Linked DNA regions of Homo sapiens: regions 1, 2 and 3 are each linked to region 4. Evidence: promoter capture Hi-C in 16 types of primary human blood cells and fetal thymus (Javierre and others, 2016). All regions are on one chromosome and are shown on one strand. The core of a region is centred on a gene start or on the middle of the fragment in contact, and the rest is flanking DNA. Distances in the headings are between cores, read along the strand shown. Region 1 overlaps TACC1 (transforming acidic coiled-coil containing protein 1). Region 2 has its middle 7.2 kb from the start of TACC1. Region 3 overlaps TACC1 (transforming acidic coiled-coil containing protein 1). Region 4 holds the start of HTRA4 (HtrA serine peptidase 4).

Region 1 (4,359 bases), core at 1,156-3,655, 180 kb before region 4:
TAAGTATCCTGTCATGTGATAGTAGTTTAAAAAATCAAAAAATACATCTTCCACATGTGTGAACTTGGCACATATTATTCTGAAGTATGAAATGTATTTTAGGAAGTTGAAACATCAGAAGTTTGGAAGCTTGCAGCATGATTTAGATATAAATTAATAGTCAAGCAAAAATCATCACTGGATAAGTGCAGTGGGATTGAAAACATTTTGCTTCCTCAATGCCTAGCTTCAGCTCATCAGTGAAAAATAAAGAAGGAGTAGACAAATTCAGTACTAGCCTTTGCATTCTGTCTCCACCTGAGTCATGCATGGTTGAGAAGAGGCAGGTGTGTGGAGGTGTGTGCGGCTGCCAGGGGCTCTGCGCCTGTTTTATGGTAGATAGAGGAGTTTTTAAGAGGCCTTTGTTGGTGATCTCTGGCTGCATAACAAATTACTCCAAAACTGAAAACAACGAACATCTCACATAGTCTTTGTAGTTGGGAAATTTGGGAGCTGGGTGGTGTGGCTCAGGTCACTTTTGAGAATGCTGTCAAGATGTCGGCTGGGACTGCAGTTGTTTAAAGACTTGACTGAGGCTCAAGAATCCTCTCCTAAGGCGGCTTACTCATTTGCCTGGGCTGTGAGTGCTGGCTGTTGGTGGGAGGCTGCAGTCCTCACCATGTGGACCACTGCTGGGTTGCTTGAGTATCCTCACAGCATGGCAGCTGGCTGCCCCAGAGTGAGTGATCCAAGAGCAAGCAAGATAGAAACTGCAGAGTCTTCTGTGACTTAGCCTCAAAAGTCACACTTATTTCCACAGTATCCTTTTGGTTACACAGGTCAGTCCAAGGGCATGTGTACCAGGAGGTGAGACATATAGGGGCCGTCTTGGAGGCTGGCTACCACAAAGCCCTTTTCCACTTTTTAAAAAACTTGCATGAAAGGATATACAAGGGTATACATTCTTAGATGGCAAAGCTTTTCCCATTGCTTTCTTCCTTTGGCGTCTCTTCACTATGCCCTTCCTAACCCCACTCCTTCTTGCTGCCCTCTTTCTTAAACAGGAGCAGAACTGGCTGAAGAAATTATATAGCCGCCTATTGGCTTGTGGTCCTGCCATGGATGTGTCTCATGCACCCAGCATGCTGGCTGAGATTGCTCTGTCTGGAGGCCCCTCTCTTGCTGAACATTCCTCCCTCTTCTTCTTTATCCAGCATCAGCTTCTCAGCTCCATGTGGGTGGTTGCTACTTTGTGAGAGAGGCAGTTGGTATTTTGAATTTTCCAGTAATTATTTCTGAAGAGATGCACATTATGGTTGTTTGGCAGCAACAGATTGAAGTTACACAATCCCAGATCTCTGCACAGGAGCCCCATCTGTTAGCACGTGCTCTTTCCCCCCTTGCTCTTCCTGCCAGAATAGGTTGGGGATGGGGGAGAAGTTTTGTGGGGAGGGCCTTCTATGATTTCTGTCTGTGGAAGGGGATTTCTACTCTGTCTAAAATATAACCTCAAACAAATCCAGATGGTTCCAGAACCCATGGGCATCTCATGAGTGAGAAGAGAAGACACATTCATTGCTGGATTGGCTTCTCTGGAGGAGGCTTTGGCTTCCTGGTGGGTGGACACTTCCTGATAAGCAAGTCCCATCCTCTTACCTTATAATCTTGGCCTTTAGAGATACGGTTTGGGTCTCTTTTTATTTTTCTTCCTTTTTTTTTTTTAGAGACAGGGTCTTGCTGTGTTGCCCAGGCTGGAGTGTGGTGGTACAATCATAGCTCACTGCAGCCTCAACTCCCAGTCTTAAGGGATCCTCCTGACTCAGCCTTCCGAGTAGCTGGGACTACAGGCGTGTACCACTACACCTGGCTTGGGTGTCTTTTTAAATAAAATAGCATAAAGTGCTGTTTTGGAAATTTGAAGTGCTTTCTTCATCCTTAGTACAAACTTTTTTCAGTTTACCAAGTGGTTTTCCAGATTATTCTTTACCTGTAGAGTCTTAGGTTTTAGGGGGAGCCTCTCTCAGGAGTTAGAGGCTTATCTCAGGAGAACAGCAGTGTAGCTGGTGCCCTGTCTCTTAAAAAAGCAATGAAATTTGCCCTACCGTGACTTCTGGGTAATGTTTTTGTTTGGGGGTTTTTTGGAGGTTAGGAAGGGGTTTAAACAGGTAGTTTGTTGTCTGGGTTCTGCGTGTGTGTGTGTGTGTGTGTGTGTGTGTGTGTGTATGTGTATTTTTCTGCTTTGGTTGGTGAGACAGCTTAAAACTATGATGTACCTAAGAGGATGGTCTGCCTTGACTCACCCACTCAGAATCCCGCTGACCCACCCCTCTCCCATGCTTCCGGGGATCCTGGGCCCCAGCAGTTGTTGGGGAAATGTGAGCTATGCAGCCCATACCCTTAGATTGTATCCCGCATTCCTGGAAAAGGGCCTATTGTACGGTTGTTCCAACCCTGGACAATAAATTGTGTACTTCTCCATTTTAAGGCTGATGACTAAGTGAGAACGAACATATATAAAATACACTTCAACTTTGGAGGAATCAGAGAGACTGGGAACCCAAAGACATGAAACTGGGGGAAAAAAACACTCAAATTTTGGACTTTTAGCATTAATGCTAATATACATCTGATTAACAGTCTCCTCAGGGCAGACCACTTGAGCAGAAAGGGTTGGTGCCAGAATCACGCTTGTTTCCCTCCTGAAGCCCTTGATTCAGTGTGGGGGAGGAGAGCTGGGAGGGCAAGACCAAGGCACGGAAAGGAGGAGTGGGACCTTCAGGGCAAAGGGCCAAGGGAAGAGCTATGCCAAGCCATCCCCCAGCCGTTAGCCTAGAGCTGAGCTGCGGCATCACTGAACAATTAGCTAGGCCTTCTCAGTATGCGACAGATGAGGTGAGGAGGAGTCCTTTATGTATCAGACACTTGCCCTGCAGTGGGCACTGATTGAGCATCAGCTCTGTCTTGGACGCTCAGTTTCTGCTCCCAGGGATACAAAGAGTAAGGCCCCTGTGGGGCTCCGAGTCTGGAGGGAGCTAGCCCTGTCCTGTTTCCCAGACCTCTTGGCCGCCTTGGCATCCCAAGAAGTTTTAGCAGCAAAAGATAGGGAATTTGTGAGGGAAGAAATTCCCCCGCAAATCTGGAGGTCAAATGTTAAAAGGAAGAAGGCAAATGTTAAAAGTTAGAATTTTAAAAATCCCCCTGCCCACAAAGTAAAAAAAGCCTTTTGGGCTTGACAATTATAACTCTAGGATGTTTCATATACCATACTTGGCTACATCTGTTGTGGAAAAGAGGGATGATGTCATTTTTTTCACCTCTTTCTGTAAATAGAATTTATGTAGCACATGTGGGCTTCCTCAAGAGAAATTTAAAACCCCAAATTGATGGGATGGTGAGACCTACCACCTCTCTCAAGCATGTGTCTCTCCAAGTGACACACATAAGACACTATTTAAAGCATGTACTTTGGATGTGTGTGCTGGCTCACTCCTGTAATCCCAGCACTTTGGGAGGCCAAAGCAGGAGGATTGCTTGAGACCAGCCTGGGCAACAAAATGAGACCCCGACTCTACCAAAAACAAACAAACAAAAAATTAGCAGGGCATGATGGCTTGTGCCTTTAGTCCCAGCTGCTCAGAAGGCTAAGGTGGGAGGATCACTTGAGCTTGGGAGGTTGAGGCTCCAGTGAGCCGTAATCGCCCCACTGTACTCCAGCCTGGACAACAGAGCAAATCTGTGTGGTATAGTTGAACATTTTACTAGAAATCACAGGACATTCCTCCTGCTCCATTTCCCTCGGGTCTGAGCCTCCATGTTCTTTTTTAAAAATAGTTTTATTGAGATATAGTTTACCTGCCATACAATTCACCATTTAAAAGCTTTATGATAGTTTTTAATTTATCGACAGAGTTGTACAACTATTATCTCAATTTAATTTTTAGAACATTTTATCACCCCCAAAGGAAACCCTATACCCATTAGGTGTCACACTCCATTCCTCTTCCTTCCCACCACCAGTCCTAGGTAACTGATGATCTAGTTTGTGTCTCAATAGATTTGATTATCTAAACGTTTCATGTAAGTGGAGTAGTAGAATATGTAGTCTTGTATGACTGAATCAGTTCACTAACCATGTTTTCAAGGTTCAGCTATGTTGTAGCAAGTATCGGGACTTTATTCCTTTTTTATTGTTGAACAATACCCCATTTTATTGATATACTATATTTTATTTACCCGTTTATTGGTTGACGGACATTTGGGTTATTTACACTTTTGGCTATGATGAATAATGCTGCTATGAACATTCACATCATGGATTTATGTTTTCATTTCTCGGGTATATAACTAGGAGTAGAATTGCTAGGCCATATGGTAACTTCA
Region 2 (4,285 bases), core at 143-2,642, 190 kb before region 4:
TGTGCTCAGCAAAAATTCAGAGGGTTCTTTTGCTAGAAGAAATAAGGAAATGATGGATACAGATGGATACAGGATGTGGGGTGAGGGAATTAGGCTCTACCATGGTGATCTTGTGGAAATTCAAAGAGTAGAGGTGCATAGACACACAATGTTAAAGAAGCATTATAGTTTTTCTTTTTTATCTTTGTGTGTGTGCATGTGTGTAGAGATGGGCTCTCACTGTGTGGTCCAGGCTGGTCTCAAACTCCTGGGCTCAAGCGATCCTCCTGCCTTCGTCTCCCAAAGTGTTGGGATTACAATCATGAGCCACCACACCTGGCCTTTTGCTTTTTTATCTTAATAATTAAAATTGTGTGTGTGTGTGTGTGTGTGTATGTGTGTGTTTACAATGGGTACAGAAGGAACAGAGCCATGAATTATGTTTCACAATCTGTGTAGGAGATATCTTTTGACAGTTTTATCCAGTTTCCAACAGTTAAATATTTTTGTTTCCTCTAAGAAGACAGAGGTCAGTGTGACCCCCTCGCTCCATAAATGGACATTTCACTTACTGAGTTGAGGCCAGCTGAACCACTCCTGAGCCACAGGCAGGAATCTCTTTTGTTCTCTGGGCAGAGCTGAATTTACTATGAAGCTGAGGAAGCCTAAGCTTCAGTCCCCTCCCTTGCATGGGCCCCTTCATACTAGTGTGGCCCTAGCACTGTGTTCATGGGGTCCTTTAGCATTTTTCTTAAAGAGTGCTTCCCCAGTTTTTAGGCTTCCTGCTTCACAAAATCAGGCCTTGGCAACCTGTTTGATGCCTCCTTTCTTTGCTGAGCCTTGCTACTTTTTCCCAGATGGGGAGAGGCTCCTGGGTGTCATTTCCCTCATCAACATAGTTTCTTGGAAGAAACCACCCTAAAAGGAAGTATAGCGAAAGAGCATCCCAAAGAAAGAGATGTTAAAATTAATCCTTTTGCACCTCCCACATAAAGTATGCCTTTTATGCTCTGGCCCAATTTTTTGTGCCTTTGAGGATTCTCATTTGTATCAGTAGGGGTCCTTGGGTTTTTTTTTTTTTTTTCTTTTCTTTTTAGACAAGGTCTCGCTCTGTCACCCAATCTGGAATGCAATGCCACAATCACGGCTTACTTCAGCCTTGACCTTCTGGGCTCAAGCGATCCTCCTGGGCTCAAGATTAGCTGGGACTACAGGCGAACACCACCACGCCTGGCTACTTTTTAATTTTTTTATAGAGATGGGGTTTTGCTATGTTGCTCAGGCTGGTCTCAAAGTCCTGGGCTCAAGTTATCCTCCTGCCTCAGCCTCCAAAAGTGCTGGGATTATAGGAAGATGCCACTATGCCTGGCTGAAATGCTCTTTTTTTATGGTACTTTGGCTCAACTGGCAAATGCCTTCTTGAAATGAGCATTTCACACTTTGGTCACCACACAGTCACTTAGATGAAACCCACAGGCTGCCCAGTAACATGGGCTCCCACTGGGCATTTGGGGAAGGGCACACCCTGCCTGGAGTGGTGAGCACTGCTAGGCCTGCTCTCCGCCCTTTTCCACCCTCCGGGTGTCTTCAAAGCTGGCTGTTTTCTACACTAACTTCTGGCAGGTCTGGATTTTCCGTATAAGGGCTTTTTTGGCCAGTACTTCCTTATACTGAAGAATTTTATATTAGTTCCCTTTCAGATTCGAAAATCAATCTTTAGTCAACCTAAAACATTATTCCTGGAGTGGGGCTTGACTGTATGTGGGGAAGAGGAGAGGGAGAGACTGATGCAAATATGCACACACACATACTTTTTGCATACAATTTCAGGGAGGCCAGGACCTTCTGAAACCCTTCCTTGCTAAGCCTCTGCTGTAGAGGGTGAAATGCAGCCAAGTTAACTTGTTAACAACAACAAAAAGGCCGTAACAATACTTTCCTCCTGAGATTGTAGGAGTAAGTGGGGGAGATTAAATGAGACGATTCATGTAAAGTGTAGTGTCTAACACATAGTAAGCAGTTATAATTGTTCACTTTTCTTTTGGGGCTTAAATGATCTTACTTGTTTTCACGAGTTCCTTAGGTAATAACAATACTAACAGCCTTTGTTTTTCCATGGCCTGTTGTTTGCCTTTTAACTTGAAGGCACACAGTCAGAAGCTTCATTTTTTTAAATGTAACCAAATCTATCTTTATTTTGTGTCTGATTTCATTAATTACTTGTAAGTTGGATCCTCATCCTTCCTACAGAGCTCTGATAGATTCTGTTGCTTGTAGACTGTTTTCTCCCAATGGTTCGATTTTTATTATTTAGTCATCTAATCCATCTGGAATTTATCCTGGTATATGCTCTGAGGTAAGGGTTTAACTTGATCTTTTTTCCCATTGCCAGCCAACTATGCTCCAATCATAAATCTTCCTTCTCCTTACATATTGTAACATGTTCTTTATATTTTTGTTGTTTGTTCTTTTTTTTTGAGATAGAGTCTCGCTCTGTTGCCCAGGCTGGAGTGCAGTGGCACGATCTTGGCTCACTGCAACCTCCGCCTCCCGGGTTCAAGCCATCTTTTTTGGTATATAATAAATTCCTGTATCTTGTAAGATCTTTTCCTGGGCTTTCTGTTCTGTGTTACAGAACAAAGATCTGGCTATTTTTGCATAAATGTGTCTCAATGTCTTGTAGGACTAGTCTATTCTTCACTCTTCTTGTTGGTGTTGTTTTTTTTTGTTTTTTTTTTACAAAATCTAAAATATGTTCACCAGTTTATTTTTCCAGATAAACTTTTAAACATTATTGACGAATTCTAAGAAAAATCCCCTCGGAATTTTGATTGAAATCAAATTAGCCCTGTAAGTTAACTGGGTGGTATTGCCATCTTAGCAACAGTGTTTTACCAACTTGGAGTTTCAGGACCAAAATACAGTAATCAAAATTTTACTCCAAAGAGATAAAAGCTGGAGTTTACAGGATGCTGTGTATCATGTCACAGAGTTGGCTGCTTATTTTCCCATCTTTTTATTTCTTAGAAATACAGGAAGATTATTGGTCACAAACACATGAGTTACTGTAATGAAATTCCCCCAAATCCCTAGACTAAGGAATTAAGTTGGAGTTGGTGTCACAGTTATTTTTGAAAGCTTTTTGTGATTTTATTCTTTTCTTCTGGGTGGACCTTTTCTCCCCACATCCTCCTAGCAGTGAATCTGCTTTTGCCTTTCACTGCCCCTTCCAACCACCATCCCAATCTGTTACCTTGTAACTTCTTAGTGACAAGAAGACGTATGGTCTCCTGAAGATTCACAATATATTTATGAGGATAGTGAGTAGAATATTTTATATTAGGGTGATCTCAAAACATTTGGGCTATATGATTAATGTTCTACTAATCCATAAGGATGCATTGTTTAGGACATTTATTTTATTTTGGAGGTGGGGAAAAGAAGAAGGAATAAAATGGCTGTAGGAGAAGAAATATTCTTCTTTTTTTTTTTTTTTGAGGCGGAGACTTGTTCTGTCCCCCAGGCTGGAGTGCAGTGATGCAATCCTGGCTCACTGCAACTTCTGCCTCCTGGGTTCAAGCGATTCTCTTGTGTCAGCCGTCTGAGTAGCTAGGATGACAGGTGCGTGCCACATGCCCAGCTAATTTTTGTATCTTTAGTAGAGACGGGGTTTCGCCGTGTTGGCCAGGCTGGTCTCGAACTCCTGACCTCAGGTGATCCACCTGCCTCGGCCTCCCAAAGTGTTGGGATTACTGATGTGAGCCACTGCGCCTGGCCAGGAATATTATTCTACTTAAATGTCCTGAATTCCTTCAGCCTCTTTAATTCAAGTCTTAAATTCCACCCTCCCCACAAACAGGTAAGTGTAGTAAAGCAGATATCTCAAATTTGAAGTAATGTCCTTTACTAGAATCTTAAATTTATAAACAACATAGAGGAAGTTTCAGATGGTTTTCTTGTCTGAGCTCTAGGTATAAAACTCTCAGACTTGGAGTTGGACTTGGACAGCCCTCTTTTTTATTTTTTATTTTAATTTTATTTATTTATTTATTTTTTACATTCTTGTAAATCTTTATTTTTTTTATTTTTTATTATTTTTTTTTGCAGATTTCTTTTTTTTTCTTTTATTATTATACTTTAAGTTTTAGGGTACATGTGCACATTGTGCAGGTTAGTTACATATGTATACATGTGCCATGCTGGTGCGCTGCACCCACTAACTCGTCATCTAGCATTAGGTATATCTCCCAGTGCTATCCCTCACCCATCCCCCCACCCCACAACAGTCCCCAGAGTGTGATGTTCC
Region 3 (4,353 bases), core at 1,374-3,873, 160 kb before region 4:
CTGAGCAACTGGCTATAAATTTGGGGATTCTCATAACTCCTCTTCTCAGTTTCAGTAATTTGCTAGAACAACTCACAGAACTCAGGAAAATACTTATATTTACTGGCTTATTGTGAAGGATACAACTCAGGAACTGTCAAATGCAAGGGATACATAGGGCAAGGTATCCCCATACCTGCAGGGGTGCAGAGCTTCCACTCCCTCTGGGCACACCACCCTCCCAGTAAGTCAACATGTTCACCAACCTGGAAGCTCCCTGTCCCTGTCATTTAGGGGTATTTATAGAGGTTTCATCATGTAGGTGTGATTGATTAAATTATTGGCCTTGGTGATTGAGCTCATTTTCCACCCTTTCTCCCCTCCCTGGAAGGAGTGGGGACGGTGCTGAAAGTTGCAACCCTCTAATCTTGGCTTGGTCTTTCTGGTGACCAGCCCATTCCCGCAGCTGTCAAGGGACCCCCAGCACCCAGTCATTCATTAACACACAAAAGACACTCTGACCAGTCAGGAGGTTCCAGGGGTTGTAGGAGCTCTGTGCCAGGAACTGAGGACAAAGACAAAATACGTATTTTTATTATACCACCTGTGTTGAATCTAAAAAGCTGACAATAAGCACCAAAACTTAAAAGGAGTGATAACTATCTAAACCTTGATATAATCAAGACTCATTGTTGTACAACTGGCCTGTCTTTTAACTGAGCCAGTTGTACATGGAAACACATGGATATTTGCAGCCTTAGGGTGCTGATGGCTTGTTTTTAGTTGTCTGCCTCCGCATCATCAGCACAAAGAAACAATAACACATTTATAACAGTTCACATACATGGACAGAGATAATAGACTCTGTACACATAAGTGAAATTGTCAGTACAGTTTAAAATGTTCTTGTTAAAATTTTGTGTGTATTGCAGTTGAGTTTTTAAACTTTTTATTTATGAAAAGTTTCACAACTGTATGACAGAGAAAATAGTACAATGAAAACTCCCATATACCTATTCCTGGACAACAGTTACCAAGATTTTGCCATACTTACTATCTCTTTTTTAAAAAATCCTTTTGAAATATGTTAAACCAAATTCTGATTATGAAGCACTGAGACGTTTTAACACATTTTAGTATTAATAATAGTTAAACATATATTTAAAAGAAAAATTTTAATTGGACATTTGTAGAATATCTGAAGTATGTTTGTGAAGTATAATTTGTAAACCAGTACCCAATAATAATCATAGAAGATTCATGAGAAAGGTGTGTGAATGCTTTAAAAAAGCTATTCCAAATCCCAGCTACTTGGGCAGCTGAGATGGGAGAATTGCTTGAGCCCCAGAGTTTGAGGCTGCAGTGAGCTGTGATCACACCACTGCACTCCAGCCTGGGCAACAGAGTGAGAGACCCCTAAAAAAAAAAAAAAAAAAAAAAAAAAAACAGGCTGGACGCAGTGGCTTATACCTGTGACCCCAGTGCTTTGGGAGACCAAGGCAGGCAGATTGCTTGAGCCCAGTGAGACCAGCCTGGGCAACTTGGCTGTCCTGTCTCTACATAAAAAATAAATTAAAATAAAAATTAGCCAAGCTTAGTGGCTCATGACTGTGGTCCCGGTTACTTGGGAGGCTGAGGTGGGAGGATCACTTGAGCCTGGGGAAGTCAAGGCTGCAGTGAGCCATGATCAGGCCACTGCACTCCAGCCTGGGTAACAGAGACACTGTGTCAAGAAAAACAAAAATAAAAACTATAGCTATGATATTCCAGTGGTACTTGACTCTGATCCTGGATTAGGATTAGGAAGTAGGATTAGAGGGTCATCTTTTAATTTCCTTTAAAATCATGAGATATTATAACCAATTCACTGAGTTTTTCTGTGCTACTCTTGTTTCAGATATCTACGTTAGGAAATCACTTTTTGCTTTAACGAAATTACCTCATTCACACCTTCCTAATATTTGCAGCACTTATCCTAGTAAGACCACAATTAAAAAGGATTTTTATTTTTCACAAGTGATTTAGAGAATTCCTGGTCCGACTTAGAGACAGAGGTTCTAAAGAAAAAATAACTTTATTGTTTTACAATTTGTGTCTTAGTAAAATAAGGGCTATTTGTTTTAAAGCCATTTCCATATCTGGTTTTTCAAATTAGCTTTCTTATTTGGTTCTTTTAGTTTTTAGGTCTACAGAGAGATGATTCTGAGCTGGTCACAGTAGATTTTTTAAATTTATTTTTGAAACAGTCTTTTTAAATTCTGTTCTGTGGATACATGGCTTTTTTTTTTTCTTCTTTTTTTTTTCTTTGAGACAGAGTCTAGGCTGGAATGCAGTGGCGCAATCTCGGCTCACTGCAGCCTCCATCTCCCGGGTTCAAGTGATTCTCCTGCCTCAGCCTCCTGAGTGACTGGGACTACAGGCGTGTGCCACCATGTCTAGCTAATTTTTGTATTTTTAGTAGAGATGGGGTTTCACCATGTTGGCCAGGATGGTCTCAATCTCTTGACCTCATGATGTGCCCGTCTTGGCCTCCCAAGATACTTATGTTTTTAACATTCAAAGATTCAGATCTGTTCACTGCATAAAGTTCTGACCCTGAAGCTGTCAGGCTGTGCTTAGGAACTGTCTCAGCACCAATCTGCCTCCCTGCACCATAGCTGTTGGTTTCTAAATACTCCTCCAGACCAGTTTTACCCTACAGAATGTTAACATCACATAATAATACATTGCAGCAGACTCTTGCTCTATTTATCCTTTTTCTAAATAGCTCTTTTGGTGTACTTACTATTCGTATCACTTGGATAATGCACATACACAACTTGGGATAGGAAAATTCATTTTAGGGTGTTGTGCCAGCTCTTCTCTTTCAGGCTGTGCTGCCATCCTTCCTGAACTTTAGAGATGCTTAATAAAAGCAAAGAGGGAAGAACTTGCTATTTGTTTATATGAATTCAGGTAAGAGAGGATACTTACCAGTGACAGATAATTCTTTAATAGATGGTTTTTGTGTTTCATTTTAGAATCACAAGAAGCTGATGAACAGCTTGTAGCAGAAGTGGTTGAAAAATGTTCATCTAAGACTTGTTCTAAACCTTCAGAAAATGAAGTGCCACAGCAGGCCATTGACTCTCACTCAGTCAAGAATTTCAGAGAAGAACCTGAACATGATTTTAGCAAAATTTCCATCGTGAGGCCATTTTCAATAGAAACGAAGGATTCCACGGATATCTCGGCAGTCCTCGGAACAAAAGCAGCTCATGGCTGTGTAACTGCAGTCTCAGGCAAGGCTCTGCCTTCCAGCCCGCCAGACGCCCTCCAGGACGAGGCGATGACAGAAGGCAGCATGGGGGTCACCCTCGAGGCCTCCGCAGAAGCTGATCTAAAAGCTGGCAACTCCTGTCCAGAGCTTGTGCCCAGCAGAAGAAGCAAGCTGAGAAAGCCCAAGCCTGTCCCCCTGAGGAAGAAAGCAATTGGAGGAGAGTTCTCAGACACCAACGCTGCTGTGGAGGGCACACCTCTCCCCAAGGCATCCTATCACTTCAGTCCTGAAGAGTTGGATGAGAACACAAGTCCTTTGCTAGGAGATGCCAGGTTCCAGAAGTCTCCCCCTGACCTTAAAGAAACTCCCGGCACTCTCAGTAGTGACACCAACGACTCAGGGGTTGAGCTGGGGGAGGAGTCGAGGAGCTCACCTCTCAAGCTTGAGTTTGATTTCACAGAAGATACAGGAAACATAGAGGCCAGGAAAGCCCTTCCAAGGAAGCTTGGCAGGAAACTGGGTAGCACACTGACTCCCAAGATACAAAAAGATGGCATCAGTAAGTCAGCAGGTTTAGAACAGCCTACAGACCCAGTGGCACGAGACGGGCCTCTCTCCCAAACATCTTCCAAGCCAGATCCTAGTCAGTGGGAAAGCCCCAGCTTCAACCCCTTTGGGAGCCACTCTGTTCTGCAGAACTCCCCACCCCTCTCTTCTGAGGGCTCCTACCACTTTGACCCAGATAACTTTGACGAATCCATGGATCCCTTTAAACCAACTACGACCTTAACAAGCAGTGACTTTTGTTCTCCCACTGGTAATCACGTTAATGAAATCTTAGAATCACCCAAGAAGGCAAAGTCGCGTTTAATAACGTGAGTGACAGTGGGCGCTGGGTGTCGTGCTCTGTGTCTTGTCTGTTGAGTTTGGCAGCCAGCTACTTTTGGCTTTGGTGAACTGAATTTACCTTTGAGGTGCACCGAGGTTCATACAAAGCTTATAATGTTATCCTGCAGTCTTCACTGTTTGGCTTAACTGTTGTGTGGAATCAGAAATACCAGAGGTTTCCTTTTCAGATTGTTGTCTTTTTTCTGAATCCTTAGCTTAATCAGCTA
Region 4 (4,026 bases), core at 333-2,832:
GATGGTACGTATTTGACCAAAGCAGTTAGTTTTAAATGTATAAAATTGAACCAAATGGAAAAAATAGGTTGGGGATGCAGTATAGATTAGTGACTAAGTGCATAGGCTCTGGAGTAAATCTGAGTTTTTTTTTTTTTAAAGGAACTAAAAAATGTACTGCATTTTCTTTGTGGAATAAAAGCCTTGCCTGAGTTGTGCTATTTTCATAAGGCTTTTGAAGTGGTCTTGACCCACTGTGTGTAACAGTATTTCAGGTGGTCCTCCCCATGGCTGAATAATGCCATCCATTATTCTTTAATTTTTATTTTTAGAAACAGTGTTTCACTCTGTCACCCAGGCTGGAGTGCAGTGGCCTGATCATGGCTCACTGCAGCCTGGACCTCCTGGGCTCAAGTGATCTTCCTGCCTCACAGCCTCCCAAAGTACTCAGATTATAGGTGTGAGCCACCACGCCTGGCCACCATCTATTACTTTTGAAATCTTCAAAAGACTTGCTTACTCAATGTCAGCTGATGGTTGGTAAAAATAATTTGGCCTTTAGTGTTAAGTGAGACATCATAAGGGTATTGAGGTATACATTATGGAGATTGATGTCAGGTCAGAATATTGGAGTTATACATCTATTTCTGAGTTGAATACTCAGCTCCCACGAGAAAGAAAGTAGTTTTAAGGTCCAGCTTCTTAGTCTACTTGAAGCAAATTTTTTTTCTTTTATATTTCTGAATATAAATATACTCTTATATGGGCTAAAAAGACCCCATGAATAAATAGCAGGTTCAGTAGTTGAGGAGTGGAGTTTAGTAGGTTTGTTTTCAGTATAAATTAGATAACATGTGGAGGTCACAGCATTTTGGAAATTGAGTGTCCCCAAGTGAGCTTTGTTTATAAACTTTCAAAATGTCGGAAGTGGACAGGTTTGTTAAATCTTGTCTGCCAGCACCCTTTTCTTCCTTTGTTCCTTTTCCTCTCTGTGTTATTGCCTGCGGCAGCCAGTCCTTCATACTAGATAGAGTTCAGATAAAGCAAACGTTTGGCAAAAACATACTGTTTGACCTCCTCCCCCTCTGCTTATGAAGGGGTAGCATGATTCTGTGTTTTAAAGCAGTGATGTTTCAGCTGTGAAATGCACTCGCTGTAAGCTCTAGGCTGAGTGCATGGAAACTGTTACGCTTCTCATTTTATGTGATCTCCTAATTGGTATGTAGCAAAAATTTTCTAAAACTGTTTTGTGGCTTGTTTTGTAATAAAACCATGTGAAATACTGAAATATGGTCATGTGTTTTCCTAATACTGACCTTCTGACCATGGGTGGGTGAGCTTTCTTATCAGTCTGCCCTCATTGTCGGTTTTAGGGATTTCAGGAGGTAGGTTCCTGCTCCGGGTAGGGCTAGAGACCTTCCCCTCATTGCCTGGGGGAGAACCTGGCTCCGGGGCGCCGACGGGGGCGGGTGGTAGGGGATGTACGGGTGTGTATATGCAGAGGTATGCCAGGCTCTGCCCCTTAAAGTTTGGGGGCCGGCGGAGGCGGCGCCGTGGCCGGGAGAAAGTGTCTCTCATTTAGGAGGGTTTGCAGGTCCAGAGTAAAGTCACTGAAGAGTGGAAGCGAGGAAGGAACAGGATGATTAGACCTCAGCTGCGGACCGCGGGGCTGGGACGATGCCTCCTGCCGGGGCTGCTGCTGCTCCTGGTGCCCGTCCTCTGGGCCGGGGCTGAAAAGCTACATACCCAGCCCTCCTGCCCCGCGGTCTGCCAGCCCACGCGCTGCCCCGCGCTGCCCACCTGCGCGCTGGGGACCACGCCGGTGTTCGACCTGTGCCGCTGTTGCCGCGTCTGCCCCGCGGCCGAGCGTGAAGTCTGCGGCGGGGCGCAGGGCCAACCGTGCGCCCCGGGGCTGCAGTGCCTCCAGCCGCTGCGCCCCGGGTTCCCCAGCACCTGCGGTTGCCCGACGCTGGGAGGGGCCGTGTGCGGCAGCGACAGGCGCACCTACCCCAGCATGTGCGCGCTCCGGGCCGAAAACCGCGCCGCGCGCCGCCTGGGCAAGGTCCCGGCCGTGCCTGTGCAGTGGGGGAACTGCGGGGATACAGGTGAGCCGCGGGGGCGCGCGCCCTCGGAACACTTTCTAACTCTGGAGGAGCGTAAAGGAACAAGACCTCACTGAGACCGCACAGTTCGCGCCTGGTCCTCCTGCGTCATTTGCCTCCTGGATTCGACACCTCTGTGTTCCTGATTTCCTTTCCTCCTTAACAGGGGCTCTTTACCGGCTGCTACGTGGTTTCTCCCTCCCCATGCACCTTTTGAACACTGTCTTGCCTTTAACATTTTTCCAACTAGGATAGCAGGTCTGGTTCCCTCGAGGCGTACTCTTGAGCCAGTATTTTTTCATAGGGACCAGAAGCGCAGGCCCGCTCAGGAGGAATTACAACTTCATCGCCGCGGTGGTGGAGAAGGTGGCGCCATCGGTGGTTCACGTGCAGCTGTGGGGCAGGTAAAGGAGGAGGAGGAAGACCTCCACTGTCCCAGCTAATGGTTTCTGCGTGCCTACCTGCTCCAGACCCTTCGCAAGCGTCATTTAATCCTAAAAAACCAGTGAGGAAACTGAGACGTAAAGAGGTTGAATAACCTGTTCAAGGTCATTTAACCAAAGAGCAGAGGCACAAGGATGCTGACTTCTAAATCCCAGCTCCCCCTGCCCACTTAGGTGGCTGGTGCTTTTTCCCCCTCCTGCCACAGACAAAATTTAAGGTCAGATATAAGAGCTAGTAGGCAATTTCTTTTCTTTTTTTGAGACAAGGTCTTGCTCTGTCGCCAGGGCTGAAATGCAGTGACAGATCACGGCTCACTGCAGCTCCATCTGCTGGGCTCAAGTAATCCTCCCAACCCAGCCTCTGGAGTAACTGGGACTATAGGCAGGTGCCACCATACCCAGCTAATATTTGTATTTTTTTGTAGAGACGAGGTCTTGTTATATTGCTCAGGCTGGTCTCGAACTCCTGGGCCCAAACGATCTGCCACCTTAGCCTCCCGACGTGCTGGGATTACGGGTGTAGCCACCACATCCAGCTTAGTAGGCATTTTGGTTGTGATCTTGCTCAGCCCCCACTTTGGATACAAGGAAATCCAGACCCAGAGAGCAGGGTTAATTTGTCCTATGTTACTATGTTACGAGGCCAGTTGGCGGTGGAAACTAAGCCAGAATCAGAGCCCTTTGATTCTCTCCTGCCTGGGTCCTTGATACTGTGGTAAGAGGCTGACTTTTGCCTCTAGTATTAGGATTGGGTTCAGTCTTTTCGCAGCAGAGAACCCATGGGCTGCTACACTAACCAGCTCTGAAGAAGCAGTGTCCCTGGAAAAGGAGAGCTGGACCCCACTCTCAACCATGCTCACAAGAGATGGCTGGGGCCCTGTACCTGCCAAGTCCACTGATACATGGAGAAAATTTACGCATAGCCAGGGAAAAGTGAAATGTCTGAGAAAACTGAAGGAAGGCTGGGTACGGTGGCTCATGCCTGTAATCCCAGCACTTTGGGAGGCCGAGGCGGGTGGATCACCTGAGGTCAGGCGTTCGAGAGCAGCCTGGCCAACATGGTGAAACCCCATCTCCACTAAAAATACAAAAATTAGCCAGGCGTGGTGGTGCATGCCTGTTATCCCAGCTACTTGGGAGGCTGAGGCAGGAGCCTGGGAGGTGGTTGCAGTGAGCCGAGATTGCGCCACTGCACTCCAGCTTGGGCAACAGAGCGAGATTCTGTCTCAAAAAAGAAAAAAGAAAAGAAAAGAAAACTATGATGGAGGTATGTTTAATAAGAGTGAGGTTCCCATGACTCAGATTATATGGCTGTATCCCCTAACTTTCTTGCCCTCTGTTTACACTATTGTCTTGTGGAGACAGGTTACTTCACGGCAGCAGGCTTGTTCCTGTGTACAGTGGCTCTGGGTTCATAGTGTCTGAGGACGGGCTCATTATTACCAATGCCCATGTTGTCAGGAACCAGCAGTGGATTGAGGTGGTGCTCCAGAATGGGGCCC

What was found. The method cuts DNA at HindIII sites, captures the fragments that hold promoters and counts their contacts. A CHiCAGO score of 5 or more calls a contact.
Region 1: a contact is called between a fragment that was not itself captured here and the fragment with the promoter of HTRA4 in region 4, in 9 of 17 cell types (total CD8 T cells, non-activated CD4 T cells, naive CD8 T cells and 6 more). The highest score is 8.4, in total CD8 T cells.
Region 2: a fragment that was not itself captured here is called in contact with the fragment with the promoter of HTRA4 in region 4 in 2 of 17 cell types (monocytes and total CD8 T cells); the score reaches 6.4 in monocytes.
Region 3: a fragment that was not itself captured here is called in contact with the fragment with the promoter of HTRA4 in region 4 in 8 of 17 cell types (total CD8 T cells, total CD4 T cells, naive CD8 T cells and 5 more); the score reaches 8.3 in total CD8 T cells.

Annotation. Positions count from the first base shown.
Region 1 is chr8:38,796,440-38,800,798 of GRCh38, forward strand. The region is part of intron 2 of TACC1 (transforming acidic coiled-coil containing protein 1); the gene reads left to right. Among named protein-coding and RNA genes, the nearest start is that of TACC1, 11 kb to the left of the region's middle. RefSeq lists enhancers at 417-955, 1,075-1,214, 1,285-1,444. The HindIII fragment of the contact is 2,900 bases long and covers 956-3,855 here.
Region 2 is chr8:38,777,925-38,782,209 of GRCh38, forward strand. It overlaps a transcript of TACC1 not described here. Among named protein-coding and RNA genes, the nearest start is that of TACC1, 7.2 kb to the right of the region's middle. The HindIII fragment of the contact is 1,490 bases long and covers 648-2,137 here.
Region 3 is chr8:38,816,523-38,820,875 of GRCh38, forward strand. TACC1 (transforming acidic coiled-coil containing protein 1) reads left to right here. Exons shown (of 13, transcript NM_006283.3): 3 at 3,000-4,113. Among named protein-coding and RNA genes, the nearest start is that of TACC1, 31 kb to the left of the region's middle. The HindIII fragment of the contact is 2,107 bases long and covers 1,571-3,677 here.
Region 4 is chr8:38,972,646-38,976,671 of GRCh38, forward strand. HTRA4 (HtrA serine peptidase 4) reads left to right here and starts at 1,583. Exons shown (of 9, transcript NM_153692.4): 1 at 1,583-2,084; 2 at 2,386-2,485; 3 at 3,890-4,026. The coding sequence starts at 1,619. PLEKHA2 (pleckstrin homology domain containing A2) reads left to right here. Exons shown (of 12, transcript NM_021623.2): 12 at 1-1,267. RefSeq lists a silencer at 1,750-1,979 and an enhancer at 2,160-2,219. The HindIII fragment of the contact is 7,181 bases long and covers 1-4,026 here.